Regions from separate parts of the Homo sapiens genome. Here region 1 is linked to region 2. Evidence: promoter capture Hi-C in 16 types of primary human blood cells and fetal thymus (Javierre and others, 2016). All regions are on one chromosome and are shown on one strand. The core of a region is centred on a gene start or on the middle of the fragment in contact, and the rest is flanking DNA. Distances in the headings are between cores, read along the strand shown. Region 1 has its middle 230 kb from the start of LINC01793. Region 2 holds the start of BCL11A (BCL11 transcription factor A).

Region 1 (6,566 bases), core at 3,586-6,085, 1.1 Mb before region 2:
CTCTGGTGATATGAACATTGCTTCATTTCTTCAGTGTTTCCTGCTCAGATACAGCCAGCCAATGATATGGGGTTGGTGTTTGTGAAAACAAATGTATTTTTCAATCATCAAAGTCTCTAAGCTGGGGGTAATGATGTCGATGGGTGTCACTCTGAATTATTAATTTTAAAATAGTGTTTCACATGTAACATATTTCCTGAAGAGAAACCCTAAATACAATAATAATTCAACAGCCCATCCTGCTTTTTGGGTAATGTCTTACACAAAACTTTCTGATTGAACTCAAATAAGTCAGTGTTTGTCATAAGACATTCCATGTACTAAGATGGACAGATCTTTTTTTTCTTTCAGATTTTAGGATAGAAAAAGTGGCTATAAAATATCACCCGAATGCAATGTTTTTGTGGGAAGAAATATCACAACCCATCCCAGCAATATCTCCATTTTCTATCAATGTATACATCAGATTGAAAATTACTTGAAAATACTCTGCTTATTCTGTATATGTGCGGTGGCCCCAAATTTGCACAAGGGATATAATAGTCTATTGATTAATATTTTTAGAATTTAATTTTTATATTACCAATTAGAGATTGGAAAATTTGCCTCCTTACCTGATAGAGCCTTTGCCATAACTATTTTAATATAGCTATTTTACAGTAACATTTAACCTTCAACAGTGAATGTGACTTGTAAAATATAAAAGAATTCATTAAGTGTAGGAAGGCAGTTGTTCAATGTTGTACGGTTATAGAATTGGGATAACACAAACAAATTCTGCCCAACAGACCAGATATGATGATGTTTGACAAACTTATAGATATTGCGACTCCTCTAAGTACACACAGATAATGCCAATGAGTTTCAATGAGTATGTGGGTCTGAGAGAGAAGATGAAATTAATATGTAGACAGAGAGACTTCAGAGAAAAGCCAATTATCTTCTCGGCATACTGGCATACTTTGCATATACAAATTAAATATTATGAGTAACTGAGAATTAATTTTATACTAGAATCAATTCTGAATATTGTACTCTCACTTACCTGTTATACTAGTGGGGCATTTTTCATGACAAAAAAATTACTGAAGCTGGCTATTTCTCTAATGTTAGAGTTTCTGAAGAACCAAGTTATATAGAAAGAAGAAGAAGGTAAAGGCTGTGAAGGAAAAAGAGAAGAAACTAACTGCAAGTAAAAAAAATGAAGGCCATATATTTGTTGCTATGATCTGAATGTCTGTGTTCCCTCCTCAAAATATATGTTAAAATCCTAACCCCTAAAGTGAAGGCATTAGAAGGTGGAATCTTTGGACAGTGATTAGGTCATGAGGGCACAACCTTCATGAATGGAATCAGTGCCCTTATAAAAGAGGACTAAGAAAGGTCCCTGGTCCCTTTCACTATGTGAAGACATAGCAAGAAGGTACCATAATGAACAAGAAAGAAGCCCCTCATAAGACATTCAATCGGCTAGCCACCTGATCTTGAACTGACAGGTCTCCAGAACTGAGAGAAATAAATTGATCTTGTTTATTGTGCCACTCAGTTTATGGAGTTTTCTTACAACAGCCCAAATGGATTAAGATATTGCATATGAAATTTAAAAAGCACTTTTTCTCTCCAAAACCAGCTATTGTTCCCTTTTATATAACATTTTATACTTAAAAACAATGTCATTTTTATCTATAATTGAGTTTGAAACATATAAAATGAATATTTGTAAACTCATTATTTGACTTAAAAACTAAAACATTAATAATGCCATTGCTTTTACATGAAGGTCTTCCTCACCTTACTCTCATCTTCCCACTATTCTGAGTTTTATGTTCATTATTCCCTTACTTTAAAAAATTAGTCTTAGTTCACATGTGCATAATACCAAAATACTACATATTAACTATTTCTCGTTAAGCTTTATAAAAATGGTATAATACTGAATAAAGTATTTTATGGCTTGATTTGATCAGTAAATATGTTTTTAGGATTCATATTCTTGCTGGGTACAGCTATTGTTTATTCACTTTCATTGCTTTATAATATTCCATTTTGTGTATATATCATAAATGATTTATGTATCAAATTAGACTGCTAGAGCTGCCATAACAAAATACTGCAGACTGGGTTGCATAAAAAATAGAAATTTATGTTCTCAAAGTTCTGAAAGCTGGAAGTCCAAGATTAAGGTTCTGGCAGGGTTGGTTTCTAGTGAGGTTTTTTTCTTGCTAGATTTCAGAAAGCTGTCCTCGTTGTGTCCTTACATGGCCTTTCCTCTGGGCACACCCCTGGTGTCTCTCTCTTCTTATAAGAACCAGTCCTGTTGGATTAGAGCCCTACTTTTATGATCTTATTGAATTTTAATTCCTTCTTAAAGCCTCAGTCTCCAAATATAGTTACACTGAGTGACAGGGCTTCAACACATGGATTTTAGGGGACACAATTAAAGGCATAAAATGTATTGTCTTCTTGAAGGAATTAGGGTTTGTCCCAGGTTTTTGCTCCAGTAATCAATGCTTCCCTGAACATCCTTGTACATATCTCCTGGGACTAAAGAGTGAGACTTTCTCTAATTCACATAACTGGACATGGAATTGCTGGTCCACAGGCATGAAAATGTTTAAATTCACATACTGGTATCAAATAATTTTCCAACATGGTTGTATCAAGTTTTAGTTCCACCAGCAGAGTCTATGCATTCTCAAGGGTCCGTGTCCTTACCACTAATAGTTATTACCAAACATCTTAATTTTTTCCAAACTAATGAGCATAAAATGTATCTTACGAAGGTCTGTAACATTATTTCCTAAATTATAAAGAATTATTATCATTTTTCATTTGTTTATTCCAATTTGTGTCCTACTTCCTGTAAACTTGCTATTTTATTGTATTTTCCTTTTTTTTCTGTAGTTTTGTTCTCTTTTCATTCTGTTAGTAGACATTTTCTCTACATTTTGTATAAAAATTATTTGCTGGGCTGGGCACGGTGTCTCACGCCTGTAATCTCAGCACTTTGGGAGGCCAAGGCGGGCAGATCACAAGGTCAAGAGATGGAGACCATCCTGGCCAACTTGGTGAAACCCCGTCTCTACTAAAAATACAACAATTAGCTAGGCATTGTGGCGGGTGCCTGTAATCCCAGCTACTCAGGAGGCTGAGGCAGGAGAATTGTTGGAACCCAGGAGATAGAGGTTGCAGTGAGCCGAGATCGCACCACTGCACTCCAGCCTGATGACATAGCTACTCAGTCTCAAAAAAAAAATTATTTCCTGATCATTATATTATTAATATCTTCTTATAATTTGTATCTTGTCATTTTACTCACACTTGACGGACCAAAATTTTAAATTTTAATGCAATCAAACTTATCACTTTTTTTTCCCCAGAGTTTGGTACTTGTTGTATACTGTTCAAAAATTCTTCCCTGCCCTAAGGTGATAAAGATATTCTTTGTGTGTTGTATTTCTTTAAGCCCTTTATTTCAACCCCACTGCAAAAACAAAACAAAACCACTTAATTTTAGCTTTTACAAAATCCTCCCCTCATTTGTGTCACAAATATTTTAGATGAAATATATAAATTGCTGGTTTGAATAAGTTATTTTTGCTCATTTTCTTAGCACCTGCTGGTGGAAATACTATGATAAACTGGATATGGTCCTTGTTCTCAAGATGCTTAATGTCTAACCCAGGAAAGCATGGGTAGAAGCATAATACTAGAGCATATTGTTAGGGTTATAAATAAGAAGGCCCCAAGATCCTAGAACTCTAATTACCTTTAAAGTAATTTAAATCTGAAATTTATTGGATTTATACAATATGTAAAATAATCTTATTTCTCCAAAAACCTTATGAGATTTTTTCCTGTACTGATGTATTTTTAAAATGGCAAAACCACTCTGTATCTTGGAAAGGTGACCTCACTTGCTCTGAAGGACCTGGCCAGCAAGGCGCACATTAGGATTTGATTTAAGGCTGTCGGCTCCCTGAGGCCTTCCACGATATTCCTGCTCCTTCTCCCCCTCCTCATTAAGGAGGGAGCTAAAGCAGGGTAGGACATAAGAGAATTAACTAGGGCTGTGGCATTGGAAATAGGCCTTAAAAGATGGGAAGATTTCAGAAGTCAGTGAAGAGGGTCTTCAGAATGGATTAGTCAGAGAGCTGGTAAGGTGCATGTCCAATTTTGGAGACAGCACATTGTGACAAGTCATCCTTTTTTCAGAAGATGTTGGAATTATAGATACAGGAGTGAGAGGGAAAGGAATATCATTCCAATGACACTACCATAGTCTATAGCAGCAGTCTCTAATCAGGGACCAGTTTCATGGAAGACAATTTTTCCATGAATGGGGGTTGGGGGACAGTTTCGGGATGAAACTGTTCCACCTCAGATCATCAGGTATTGGATTCTCCTAAGGAGCGTGCAACCTAGATCCCTCACATGCACAGTTCACAACAGGGTTAATGCCTATGAGAATCTAATATCACCACTGATCTGACAGGAGGTGGAGCTCAGGCAGTAATGCTCGCTGTCCAGCCAATCACCTCCTGCTGCCTGGTTTGTAACAGGCCACGGACTGGTACCAGTCCTGAGCCCAGGGATTGGCTACCCCTAGTTTATAGGGCACCCCAGCTTCCCTCAATTCTCTTGTCTCAGCTCTCTGTTCTACTTCAGTCTCCCTGGCCTCCTGGCTGCTCCTGAACAGGCTGAGCACAGCCCTGCTTTAAGTACGGTGCGCTTGCTTAACACTTTTCCTTGAATGCTTTTCCCCGTTGGCCTAGAATACATCCTCCTTCCTGTTGCTTGGGCACATACTTAAATGTAACTATTGCAGAGGCTTCTCCTAATTATCTCATCTAAAACAGCAAATCCTCTCTCTCTCTCTCTATCTCTATCCTATACTCTGCTTTAGTTTTCTTCATAGTACTTACTACTAGCCAAGATAGTGTTGTATCATTATTTCCTAACTTATCATTCACTAGGCAAGAGCTCTGGATGACTTTTTAATCTTACCATATCCCCCGTGCCTAGATTTTGCCTGGTGCATAATGTATGATTCACAAATATGTGTTGAATAAATGAAATAACAGAATGAATGATAAATGAATGACTGAATGAATAAATGATGGGCATGAAGGTACTACCAGAAGTTTTAAAGGTTGTGGTATGAACCATGGTTTTGTAAGCAGTCTGTGGCATAAATATAAAGAGGAATAGGAGACACAGGACAAAGAAATCAGAAAGATCATTTATGAAGGTTTTATAATAGCTGGTGGGGAGCCTGGAAGGGGAGAGCCTAGCGGTTCACAGCCTCATTTTGGTGCCAGAGTTCAAATCCCAGTACTAAGGCCTCCTAGCTGAGTAACTCTGGGAAAGTCACTGAGACTTTCTGCCTCCCTCTTTGTCTGTAAAGTGAGGATATATTATCACCTGATTTAGAGGACTGTTGGACAGCTTAAATGAAGTAATGCATTGATTAAATGATTCATAAATAAGTAGTGGCCATCAGTGATAATAAACAAATAAGCTAGGGCAATGTCAGTGGGAACTGAGGAAGGAAATGAGTAAAGAGACATTGAGTAGGAAGGACAAGAAGGCCTTGAGATAACATTGAAATAAAATACCTGAAAAAGACTCAGATTTCTGTTCTGCCTATGGATAATGACAATAACTTTAAGTGAAATCCAGCATGCAGATAAGGAATTAGATCTTAAGTATGTCAGAAGGTAGAAATAGGAAGTAGCACAAAGAGTGAGCTTTGTTTTGCAATGTTTGAGTTGAGATGTACCCACTAATTTTACACGGAGATGTCTAACAAAGATGGAAATGTATATTAAAGGGTGATGACAAACTTTAAGAAGTTATTTTTTTCTGTTCTACAGAAAGATTTCCAATAGAATTTGCGTAGCTTTCTTCCCTTTGTATTTGAAATATGTCTAACTTGGATATTACTGTCTCTCTAAGTTGTATTACTCTAACAAGTATTTTACAATTTCTGCAGCATTCTATGCGTAAGCTCAAAGTTTAACAGGTCAAACTCTATGACCTGACACCTATTCCTAACCCTGTCCCTATGCCTGCTCCCAACCTTTCACTACTGAGGAACTGAATAAAGGATCCTCTGGTCCCATGTAGATTCTGAAGACCTGATTTAAATGTATTACAGAGCTGAACAAAATAGACGTGGAAGGAGCCACCAAGAGGATATGAACAACCCTCCAATTTGCAAACCAGAAAGCTCTGGTTTACCACCCTCAATTTTAACCACATACATTCCTATTCAGACAAAACAGCATGCTCATAGTCATTCAAAAAGCAAAAAAGGGATTGTTAGAAATCTGTAATAAATGTATGTGAGACAGAAAATTAGAAAATGGCCACCTGCCAGCGGCCCCATAAATTTTGGAGGAAATGCATTTTCTACTGGGATGCTTTATCACAGGAATTGCAAATATTTATTAAAAGTATTAAAATAGTCAGAATGTTAAATGCTTCCTCCAGTGGTGAAATTTCACATTGCCACATTAGAAGATGGGATATTCTGATACAGCGTTTATTAAACTGACTTCATT
Region 2 (5,919 bases), core at 2,911-5,410:
CAAGGGTGGACCGTGCAGAAAGTGAAGTTGGGCGCGGGGACTCTGAGGCACAAAGCGAGCAGCGTGCTGGCTGCAGGCTCCCGCCGCGCTTGCTGCGAACACGTGCAGCAGCGGCCGCGGGGCCTTGGGGCCCGGGGGCCCGGAGACGGAGGGCAGCCAGGGGCCCTGACTGCTGCCTCCATGCCCGTCCAGCTCGGCCAGCTCGGCCGCGGGGTGACGGTTCCCTGGGCCTGCCAGTTGGTGAAAAAGGAAGTGAGGTTTGGAAAACCCGGCTGGTTAACCTGGTGCAGTCTCAGTATCTCCGCACACACCTCAAGCGCGGGTCCTGAGATTCATTCTGTGTCCACAAGCTTACACTTTTTACTTTGGGGGATCTCTGCAAATGCATTTCCCCCGCAATTCTGGGCACTGGGTGTGCGCGGCGGCGGCTGCGGTTATTCATTATTAATGACGCTGCCTGCCCGCATCATTATGATGATAACTATTACTATTGTTGTGATTCCGAGCTCCGAGGCGAGAGGGGGGGTGTCGGGCTGCAGAGCCGCCCAGCAAGCCAGCCGAGGCCACCGAGGTCTGTGCTTTGCATGGGGGTGAGGGGGTGGAAGAAGTGAGGCTGGAGACCAAGTGCAAACTTGCCATATCCCCCTCTTCGGCCATGCCCCGAAGCCCTAGAGCGCGCACTCCCGGTTCCTCCCTACCAAAAATGCCGGCCCCGAAAGAAAGCGAAAACTGCACCGTGCTCCGAGCCCGGCGCGCGCTGGTCTCAGCTCGCGCACGGGGGTGTCGGCCGCGCGCCCGGTCGCTTCTCCGCGGCCCCGGCCAGAAGCATTTTTAAAGTCAAAATGAAGAACAAAGACATACGGGGTGATGGGGGAGAGAAAGGGAATTCTGCCTAACCGTTCTTTCCCCCCACCCCCACCCTCGCAAAGCTCGTTCCTCCCCGGACGAGAATCGCCGGGCAGGAGGTGGGGGAGGCTCTGGTACAGGTTCAAGTTCGCTGAGCTTTCTTGATCTTGTTCTGCCTCCTAGCGACCGAATGGCTCATTCAGCCCACATAGCAGAGGCGGGGGGCGGGGGGGTGGTACTGAGGACCGGGATGGCTCCTGCCCCCTCTGAGCACCCAGAAAATGAGGACAGAAAGAAGTGGCCCCCTCACCCCCTCCCAAACTGGCCCTTTAACCCCGGGACAGGAGGAGGGGGTACTAACCCTCCCAGCCTAGAGTGTCCCAAGATGGACCCAGGAGGGAGAGGGGTACGAGGGAGCAGCCTGGACTGCGCGCCCCGGTCTGTCCTTTGAGCCCCCACTGCATCCTTCCGAAGAAGGGCCTGACTTTCCCGAGTCCTGCGAACACTGCCCTTCCTTCCCGCCGGTACCTGGCCGGGCTGTAACTTCACACCGCCGCGCGCCGCGTCTGATCCGCATCCGGCGCGGCCGGGGGAGTTGGGGGCGGGGGAGAGCGGCGAGGGAGGGATGCGAGGGGGTGGGGAGAGGGAGGGCCGCGCAACGTGCCGGGGTGGGGGAGCTTCCGAAGTGTGTGACAAGTTCCAGGGCCCAGTGAAAAATTAAATTCCCTGTGCGCACCCCCCACCACCACCCCTTTAAAAAAACACAGAACCAAGTATAGGTGGTCCTTTAAAACTGCATCAAAAATTTAAAGTAAGAATCATAAATTGAGTAGGGGGGGAATGTGGGCCCTCACGCCTTTCTTTCCCTTGCTGCCAAACTTTCCTAAGTGCCCACCGCCCGCCTTTCCAGGCGCAGTCAGCGGGAGACAGCCACCACCACCAGCTCTTATACAGACTCACAAGAACCTCAGACCAAGCCAGGCCTGGGGAAGAGGGCAAGACCCAAAGGGTGAAGTGCTCGGGGTCCCAGGATCCAGCGCCCTTAAAATGCACACTCAAACACACTTCTCCCCTGCCCTTCCCCGGCAACCCCGCCACCTGGCCTAGTCGTGCTCGGGGCGCAGGGGGACTGGTGACCAGACCGGGCGGGGTGGGGGGTGGGCAGGGAAAGCACGTGGTGACCTCCTCGCGGTCCCGAGCTGTGGACAAGAGACGTCTGAGAAAGTACCCAGGGCGGAGGGGAGGGGAGGCGCAGAACGCGCTTTTACAGTTGCCCTGCAAAATAAAAATGCTTTGCAAAGCCGAGTTTCACCCAGCCGATTTCGCAGTCTGGGAGGTCGAGAAGAGGTCTCGGCATTGTGCTGGGGGCGGACCAGGACCACGGGCCAGGCTGGCGCGGAGACACTGCGTGGCCTGCCGCCGTGCCTGGCGGGTGGGCGCCGGGCGCCGGGTGGGCGATCCGGGGCTGGGCTGGGGCGCGGCGAGGTCGGGCAAGGCCCGGGCGAGGCCAGGCCGCCGCCGCCGCCTGCTCCGGGGCTGCCGCGCCGCGCTCGGTCCTCTGTCTGTTTGTTGGCAGGAGGCTCCCGCACACGCGGTGCTTGTAAACATTCAGACACGAGATTTTTCCCAATCAAAATCCACTTCCACTTTTTTTGAAAATCTTCCAAAAAATAGTAAGAGGAGGGAGTTCCTCTCTCCCTCTCCGTGCCGTCGGCGCCCTAAGTTTGCAACTGAAGGGGTTTGGGGGAAGAGGGTGATTGTAAATTTTTTTCTAGATGAGAGATTGTGAGATTTTTGCAGGGGGGCTGGTGGGGGAGTCAAAGAGAAGGCCGTCACAGAAAAGGGTTGGCAGAGCGTTTGGCTTCGGTTTGGGGGCAAGAAATTGTACATTCTCTTGCCTTGTTTTATTTATTTTATTTTTATGTATTTATTTATTTATGTGCCAGTCTTCTCCTTGCTGCCTCTGAGGTTCGGTCGGGAGGGGAGGGCAGCGGCAACCCAGGAGGCAGCAGTCCGGGCTCCCTCCCTCCCTCTCCCGCGTGCCCCCGGCCGCCTCCTCCCCCGGCCCTAGCTCCTGCCCTTCGGCGGCGGCGGCGGCGGCGGCGCGGGAGGGCAAGCGCGAGGAGCCGGCACAAAAGGCAGCGGGACAAACACCCACCTCTGGCCGGAACAAAAGGCGGCAGTGCCGGCCGCGTCTCCCGTCCTTCCCGGTCCCACGGCTCTCCCCGTCGCCGCGGCCCCTCTCCCGACTCCGCGGACTCAGGAGCGCCGGGGGCCCCTTTCCACAGTGCCACTTTCTCACTATTGTGGGGATGACTACTTTCCTCCCGCTGCACACTTGACCGTGAGCGCGCTGGTGTCCAAAAGCCAGTCTCACCTCTTTTCTCCCCGGGAATCGTTTTTTAGACTTGTACTCACTCCCTCCCTACCCCCCCATTTTCTTACGGTGAGTGGGAAGCAACCTCCCTTTCCCCACCAGCTCCCACCCCCAGGTTTGCATGTGAGTTGTTCGCAACCTTAGCATTGTTCATTATTTTGCAAAACTGGCGGGGCGGGGGGGGAGTGGAATCATTGCATTCCTTTTCGAAAAGAGAAATAAAGCGGCGGAAAGGAGGAAAGAGGAGGAGTCAAATTTTTGTAAAATTAAATAAAATTAAAAGGTGCGTGCTGTCTCAAAAGTGCATACACGGCAATGGTTCCAGATGGGATGAGGGTTTTTTCCCCCTTTATCTCTTTTACCTCGACTCTCGGAGGTTTTTCTCGTGAAAAATTTAAAAATGCATGCACACACCCCTCTCTCCCCCTCGCTTTTGCTTCTAGTCCTGCGCGCTCTCGTGATTATTAATAATTATTATTACTATTATTGGGTTACTTACGCGAGAATTCCCGTTTGCTTAAGTGCTGGGGTTTGCCTTGCTTGCGGCGAGACATGGTGGGCTGCGGGGCGGGCGGCGGCGGCGGCGGCGGCGGCGGCGGGCGGACGACGGCTCGGTTCACATCGGGAGAGCCGGGTTAGAAAGAAGGAGACTCCAGAGAAAATATCTTCATCAGTGCCTTTTGACATCCAAAATAAATTAGAAATAATACAAAGATGGCGCAGGGAAGATGAATTGTGGGAGAGCCGTCATGGCTTTTTTTTAAGCAAAAAAAAAAAAAAAAAAAAAAAAAAAAAGAGGGAGAGAGAGAGAAGAGAGATAGAGGGAGAGAGAGAGAGAGAGATGAAAAAAATGGCAAAAGCCCCCCTGAGCTGCAAGTTCAAGTGCGGACGTGACGTCCCTGCGAACTTGAACGTCAGGAGTCTGGATGGACAGAGACACACAAAACATGGGCAGGGCGAGCAGGAGAGAAGGGGAGGAGGGAAGGGGAAGCTCACACCAATGGACACACATCAGGGGCTGGACATGAAAAAGAGACCAGGACAAGCCAATGGCCAGTGCGGGGAGGGGGAGGTGCGGGGCGGGGGGCTCCGCGGACGCCAGACGCGGCCCCCGGGGGAGGGGCGGGCCGAGGGGAGGGGGCGCTGGGGCCGCGGGCTCACCAGTGGCCGCAGCGAGCGCCGCGGCGGTGGCGTGGCCGGGAGAGAAGAAAGGGGTGGCAGGGGTGGGAGGAAAGGGTGGGGGGGAGCAAGACGTGCGCCCTGCTCCCCCCCACACACGCGGACTCTAAAATGAAAGATTATTCAAAAAAGAAAAAAATAGAGCGAGAGTGCACCGGGAGGCTGCAGCCCCGGGCTGGGGAAGCGCGGGCGGAGGGAAGCCAGGTAGAGTTGCTCCCGGACACCCTCCTCCGTACGCACACCCACTTCCCCTCCCCGCCGCCGCCGCGCTCGCTCCCCGCGTGTGGACGCCAGGGGCCGAAGTAAAAGCCCCGAGCCCGCGGCTGCGCTCGGGAAACTTTGCCCGAGGAGAGGACAGCAAAGAAAAATCACCCGAAGTTGAGAGCTGAGCCTCCAAGTTACAGCTCCGCAGCGGGCGAGGGGAGGTGGGAGGGAGCGCACGGCAACGCGGAATCCAGCCTAAGTTTGGAGGGCTGCGGGTCCGGAAGGGCAGCGCCCAAGTCTCCAGGAGCCCGCGCGGCCTGGAAAGAGGGGACCGGGGAGAGGCAGGCGGCGCAGGCCGGGGCCCGAGGGCGCCCCCAAGGCCGAGCCAGGGACCGGGAATCTGAGCGCCCCGCCAAGCGACTGGGTCTGAATGCAACTGAAAGCGCCGAGTCCCCGGCTCCTAAGGGTCGCAGAAAGAGAGCCCGAGGAATAAAGAACGAGGAGCCAGAGTCTGGCCCCCGGAGGGGAGCGCCGGGGGCCTGGGCAAGAGAGGCACCGAGGCGTCCACCTCTCTGAGAGGCCGAGGACAAAGCGCGGGCAGTCCCGGGAGTCCCAGTCCCTGGGAATGTGCTCACGGCGCCGCGGGAGGTCCCCGAGCCGGGTCCCTGGGAGGGACACACCCCCTCCCACTCCAGAGCAACTGCAAAAGCACAGAGGGATGGGAAGAAAATGTTTCTTACGGGCAGAGCACAACTGTTCCTGTGCTGTTACCCAGGGAAAGAGAAAATGGGAATGGAGAGAGAGCGACAGGCTCGCAGGAGCAGCGGGGAGACCACGGTGGTGAGATGACCGCCTCGGGTCACCGCCGCGCTCCCCAGGCGCCGCCGGCCAAGGCGCACACCCAGGAGCCAGCAGCCCCCTCTCGCCTTTCTGCAGACGTTCCCTGGAAATTAGGGAAGACCTGTTGGAAATAAAACCCTGTCTCTTTAATGCACACACGCACACACACGCGCGTGCTGCCGCTGTCAAAAAGCGGGCTTCACTCTGGCGTGGGATACTTTCAGTTTTACGTAAAATGTACAGCAACAGCACCCCCTGCGATTGGAAAGTTTATTCAGAAACGTGCCTGTAAAGTCCCCTGGCGCCTCCCGCCTCCCAGCCTCCCTGCCTGCCAGCACCACTCTGCAGCCGCCGCCGCCGCCGCCGGGGAGATCGCAGTCCGATTCCAAATCTGGAAGGAGTTGGGGGGAGAGGAGAATGGACTCAGGTCCAAGGGAGGTGCGGAGGGTGCAGGGTGGAGACGGGTCGCCATG

Evidence for each region. Contacts are between HindIII fragments. The CHiCAGO score rates a contact against its expected background, and 5 or more counts as called.
Region 1: a fragment that was not itself captured here is called in contact with the fragment with the promoter of BCL11A in region 2 in 1 of 17 cell types (total B cells); the score reaches 6.2 in total B cells.

The regions. Positions count from the first base shown.
Region 1 is chr2:59,440,980-59,447,545 of GRCh38, forward strand. No RefSeq gene overlaps it. Among named protein-coding and RNA genes, the nearest start is that of LINC01793, 230 kb to the left of the region's middle. The HindIII fragment of the contact is 5,851 bases long and covers 1,911-6,566 here.
Region 2 is chr2:60,549,494-60,555,412 of GRCh38, forward strand. It overlaps BCL11A (BCL11 transcription factor A), which reads right to left and starts at 4,161. Exons shown (of 4, transcript NM_022893.4): 1 at 3,723-4,161. The coding sequence starts at 3,777. RefSeq lists enhancers at 49-821, 442-491, 822-1,594, 5,421-5,470 and silencers at 52-231, 1,922-2,231, 2,292-2,351, 2,872-3,231, 4,641-4,730 and 1 more. The HindIII fragment of the contact is 6,342 bases long and covers 349-5,919 here.